2 separate regions of the Homo sapiens genome follow, and region 2 is linked to region 1. The links are contacts of gene promoters, found by promoter capture Hi-C in human tissues and cell types (Jung and others, 2019). All regions are on one chromosome and are shown on one strand. Each heading gives the region's core, a stretch centred on a gene start or on the middle of the fragment in contact. The rest is flanking DNA. Distances are from core to core; before and after follow the strand shown. Region 1 holds the start of IFNA1 (interferon alpha 1). Region 2 overlaps LOC107987053 (a long non-coding RNA gene).

Region 1 (2,962 bases), core at 346-2,845:
GAAAATAAGACCTTGTTCTTTCTCATTTAAATGCCCCTTTTTTTTCTTGTCTAATATTCTGAGTAGGATTTCCAGTACTGTGTTGAAAGAAGTAGTGAGAGTGGGCATCCTTATCTTATAATAAATCTCAGAAAAAAGATTCCAACATTTCACCACTGACTATAGTGTTAGCTAATGGCTTATCTTATAGCTAATAAGGAATGTGTCTCTTTATTCTGAGGTATATTCTTTATATACCTAATTTGTTATAAATTGTATTAGAGATGGATTTTAAATTTTGTCAAAATAATTTTAGGCATGCATAAAAATAGTTATGATTTTTAATCTTTTATTGTGTAAATAAGGAGTATGGCATTTATTGATTCCAACATATTAAAATATTCTTGCATCCCAGGAATAAATCAAGCTTGATCATAATAAATGATCCTTTTATAGTGCTTTTGAATTTCATTTGCAACTACTTTGTGGATGATTTTGCATCTGTGTTCATCAGGAATATTGGCTGTAATTTTTTTTTTTCTTGTAATGTCCATCTCTGGCTTAGGTATCAAGGTAATGCTGGCTTCATAAAATGAGTTTGGGAGTATTCCTCCTTAATTTTTTCAAAGATTTGGTTCTGTTTAAATGTTTGGTGAAATTCAGGAGTAATCAGATCTAAAAAAACGTAAGAACACTAAAAATAAATGATAAAAATATTTTAAAGTTTTAAGTGTTTATCACTTTCAAATAATTTTTAAGTATTCATTACTTAGAAAATGTTTATCTATAAACATTAGAAAATGTTTATAATTTGTTAATTTGCTTATGTAATTTGATACACTACAATTTATTTGTTTGTTTGTTTTTTGAAACAGAGTCTCACTCTGACACCCAGGCTGGAGTGCAGTGGCACAATCTCGGCTCACTGCAACCTCCACCTCATGAGTTCAAGGAATTCCCTGCCTCGGCCTCCTGAGTAGCTGGGATTACAGGTGCACACAACCATGCCTAGCTAATTTTTTTTTTGTTTTTTTTTTGTTTTTTTCGTTGAGATGGGGTTTCACCGTCTTGGCCAGGCTGGTCTTGAACTCCTGACCTCGTGATCCACCCACCTCGGACTCCCAAAGTGCTGGGATTACAGGCGTGAGCCACCTCGCCAGGCCTACAGTACAATTTATATCAGTAAATAAATTACGTTGAAGTCCATAAGCAAATTTAGTTATAAAGTTAAGAAAAATTTGAATAGATTTTAAATTTAACTTTTAGCTTAAATTTTTCATTTGGTTATTTTTAAACCTGCATTGAATACAAAGATTAAACTTTGTACTTTTTGATTATAGAGATATACATATAGTATATAAATAGATACATATTGTATCTGTGTTATTAAATTTTCACGGTGGGTTCAATTAGGAAAAAGATATCTAAAAAGTCTCTGGGAACAAGATGGGGAAGACAATAATGAAAAACAAAACATTTGAGAAACACGGCTCTAAACTCATGTAAAGAGTGCATGAAGGAAAGCAAAAACAGAAATGGAAAGTGGCCCAGAAGCATTAAGAAAGTGGAAATCAGTATGTTCCCTATTTAAGGCATTTGCAGGAAGCAAGGCCTTCAGAGAACCTAGAGCCCAAGGTTCAGAGTCACCCATCTCAGCAAGCCCAGAAGTATCTGCAATATCTACGATGGCCTCGCCCTTTGCTTTACTGATGGTCCTGGTGGTGCTCAGCTGCAAGTCAAGCTGCTCTCTGGGCTGTGATCTCCCTGAGACCCACAGCCTGGATAACAGGAGGACCTTGATGCTCCTGGCACAAATGAGCAGAATCTCTCCTTCCTCCTGTCTGATGGACAGACATGACTTTGGATTTCCCCAGGAGGAGTTTGATGGCAACCAGTTCCAGAAGGCTCCAGCCATCTCTGTCCTCCATGAGCTGATCCAGCAGATCTTCAACCTCTTTACCACAAAAGATTCATCTGCTGCTTGGGATGAGGACCTCCTAGACAAATTCTGCACCGAACTCTACCAGCAGCTGAATGACTTGGAAGCCTGTGTGATGCAGGAGGAGAGGGTGGGAGAAACTCCCCTGATGAATGCGGACTCCATCTTGGCTGTGAAGAAATACTTCCGAAGAATCACTCTCTATCTGACAGAGAAGAAATACAGCCCTTGTGCCTGGGAGGTTGTCAGAGCAGAAATCATGAGATCCCTCTCTTTATCAACAAACTTGCAAGAAAGATTAAGGAGGAAGGAATAACATCTGGTCCAACATGAAAACAATTCTTATTGACTCATACACCAGGTCACGCTTTCATGAATTCTGTCATTTCAAAGACTCTCACCCCTGCTATAACTATGACCATGCTGATAAACTGATTTATCTATTTAAATATTTATTTAACTATTCATAAGATTTAAATTATTTTTGTTCATATAACGTCATGTGCACCTTTACACTGTGGTTAGTGTAATAAAACATGTTCCTTATATTTACTCAATCCATTATTTTGTGTTGTTCATTAAACTTTTACTATAGGAACTTCCTGTATGTGTTCATTCTTTAATATGAAATTCCTAGCCTGACTGTGCAACCTGATTAGAGAATAAAGGGTATATTTTATTTGCTTATCATTATTATATGTAAGATGTAAGTAAAAATGACCTTTCTCTAAACCAGGTTGTATGTTGTACTCAAGATATAAAGCTGAATACAATAAATCTACTTCCTACTCTCTTGCATATTTGGTTTTTGTATGGAATAAAACTAAAGATGGTAATCATACTTAATATCAGTTATCCTAAATACTATGAGAAGAAGGAGCAACTAATGATTTCTCTCAGCAGCGGGTAAACTGAGACAGGTGAGGAAATAAAAATAAACAGATATCCTCAAAAGTTGACTGGTAAACATCTAGTAGAAAATGTCTATTGCCAGTTGGATATATGAGTTTGCAACTTACAAGGAATGCAGTTGCTGGGGGTTCA
Region 2 (2,962 bases), core at 235-2,734, 140 kb before region 1:
GCATAAACAGAAAAGCCTGGTCTCCACAGACTTGGTTGCGGTCTTGGTGCATTTTCGTCATCAGTGGCTCTCTTCACCTAAAAATGTTTTAATAGCCTCAGAGTAAAATGGAACAGCCTTTTATTTTCTTTTTGCTAAGCTAATGTTACATCATTATAACAGGGACATTCCCTCTTATCCAGAAATATTTATAAGAAAAGAAAAACAGCCTTTCATATAAGAGTTTCTGAAAAACCTAGAACTTTCATTCAACGTCTGCTTTAATTTGTGGTTTTGTACTCTTAAGGGGAAATTGGTGGACAAAACCCACAAGAGAACTGAGAACAGCTGTATGAAGAGGCAATGCAGGTTAATGAAGAGTGAAGAGAAGAGAACAGTGCGGATTTCTAGAAGAAGAGGAAGGAAATTATTGTGATATGGGAGTTAAAAATGGGATCCAGAAAAACAGGGAGGAAAGGGGGAAGTGTGCCAGGTCTCAGAACCAGCAAAGGTTGCTATGTATATTTCACTTCAGTTTAGGAGACTAACTTTATATGGAAGTATATTCTGGAATTCTGAGAGCCAGAAAGGGAATGTGCCAGGTGCCAGAATCAGCTAATAAACATCATATATCTTCTGCACTTCAATCTAGATGGTGCTTCTTCTCTCTCAGGTATTTATACAAGCCACCATTTCCTGACTGAATACAAATAGCAAACTTCTTTGAAATAAGGAGGGATAATTTTTCAACCCCTCCAGATTTTTTGACAGAATTCTAGGTTTTTAGTTTGCCTCCTTTGGAGATGGGTTTCTGAAAGGGAGGACGTAGTTCCTAAGAATGTTATAGAAAGACGAATAATATTCTCTTCTCTAGCTGGATGAAGGAAAATAGAAAAATACCTGCCATATTTTAAATCCTTACTCTGTGAAGGATACCACACACAGTGCTTTAAACTATATGTGTTCATTTAGGAATAACAACTATATAAATATTTGAACCCATTATATTTATAAAAAAACTGAGCTCCTGCAGCCTCTGCACTGTGCTGCCACCACTGCCACTGTGAATGCCTACATGGAGTCCAACACCCCTGCACTCACCAGTGCCCCACTGCAGTCAATGAGCATTTGCCTTCCCAAGCTGCTGACACATGCAAATGAGGAAGGATCCCACTGCCACCACTCTATGAATCACTGTGGCTGGCACCACCTATCAGAGTGTTCTGACCAGTGGTTCAGGAGCAAATTAGGCCCCTTCAGCATGGCAGGTTGCGAATCTCCAGGGGCCCCAGAATGAAGCTTCAGGCCTGATAGTAGACACCCACAGTAGGATCATGCAGTTCAGGGCTCCTAAGCTGAGCCTTGGCCCACTTAAATCCCCATAGATTAAGCCAATTGACTGAACCCACATTATAGCAAAACTAAACCCCAAAGAATGTTACATAGGATAAAAGAAATAAAAGCAATCCAAAGGTTAGCAACTTCAAAGATTGAAGGACCATCAGCCCACAAAGATGAGAAAGAACCAGTTCAAGAACTCTGGCAACTCAGAAAACCAGAGTGACTTCTTACCTACAAACATCCACACTAGTTCTACAGCAATGGTTCCTAACCAGGCTAAGATGGCTGAATTGACAGAAATAGAATTCAGAATATGGATAGGAATGAAGATCATCGACATATAGGGGAAAGTTGAAACCCAATCCAATCCAAGGAGTCTAAGGATTACAATAAAACGATACAGGAGCTAATAGATGAAATGGTCACTATAAGAAAGAATCAAACTGATTGATAGAGCTGAAAAATACTGTACAGGAATTTCATAATGCAATTGCAAGTATTAACAGCAGAATTGACCAAGCTGAGGAAAGACTCTCAGAGCTTGAAAACTGGCTCTTCCAAATAACTCAGTCAGAGACAAATAAAGAAAAAACAATAAGAATAAACAAAACTTCCAAGGAATATAAGATTATGTAAAGAGACCCAATCTATGACTTATTGGCATGCCTGAGAGACAGAGAGAGAAACCAAGCAACTTGGAGAACATATTTCTTTTTTTTTTCTAAAGGATGTATTTTTACTATGATCTATTATTCTTAATTATTTTCACAAAATTGCTGGTAATCCTTAAAAAGTTGTATTTTGTTGCTGATTAATGCCGTCAACTGAACTATCTCTGTAAAGCATAATGATATTTTATTTTATTATATTTATATATTTTTTATTTTATTATTATTATACTTTAAGTTTTAGGGTACATGTGCACAACGTGCAGGTTTGTTACATATGTATACATGTGCCATGCTTGTGTGCTGCACCCATTAACTCGTCATTTAGCATTAGGTATATCTCCTAATGCTATCCCTCCCCCCTTCCCCCACCCCACAACAGTCCCCAGTGTGTAATGTTCCCCTTCTTGTGTCCATGTGTTCTCATTGTTCAATTCCCACCTATGAGTGAGAACATGCGGTGTTTGGTTTTTTGTCCTTGCTATAGTTTGCTGAGAATGATGGTTTCCAGTTTCATCCATGTCCCTACAAAGGACATGAACTCATCATTTTTTATGGCTGCATAGTATTCCATGGTGTATATGTGCCACATTTTCTTAATCCAGTCTATCGTTGTTGGACATTTAGGTTGGTTCCCAGTCTTTGCTATTGTGAATAGTGCCGCTATAAACATACATGTGCATGTGTCTTTATAGCAGCATGATTTATAAACCTTTGGGTATACACCCAGTAATGGGATGGCCAGGTCAAATAGCATTTCTAGTTCTAGATCCCTGAGGAATAGCCACAGTTTCTTCCACAATGGTTGAACTAGTTTACAGTCCCACCAACAGTGTAAAAGTGTTCCTATTTCTCCACATCCTCTCCAGCACCTGTTTATTCCTGACTTTTTAATGATCGCCATTCTAACAAGTGTGAGATGGTATCTCATTGTGGTTTTGATTTGCATTTCTCTGATGGCCAGTGATGATGAG

Evidence for each region. The method cuts DNA at HindIII sites, captures the fragments that hold promoters and counts their contacts. A contact is called where the count stands out against the background at its distance.
Region 2: a contact is called between a fragment that was not itself captured here and the fragment with the promoter of IFNA1 in region 1, in 1 of the 25 tissues and cell types used here (liver).

The regions. Positions count from the first base shown.
Region 1 is chr9:21,438,844-21,441,805 of GRCh38, forward strand. IFNA1 (interferon alpha 1) reads left to right here and starts at 1,596. Exons shown (of 1, transcript NM_024013.3): 1 at 1,596-2,473. The coding sequence starts at 1,665. The coding sequence ends at 2,234. The HindIII fragment of the contact is 13,457 bases long and covers 1-2,962 here.
Region 2 is chr9:21,295,066-21,298,027 of GRCh38, forward strand. All of the region lies in intron 2 of LOC107987053 (a long non-coding RNA gene), which reads left to right. Among named protein-coding and RNA genes, the nearest start is that of IFNA5, 8.8 kb to the right of the region's middle. The HindIII fragment of the contact is 5,447 bases long and covers 1-2,962 here.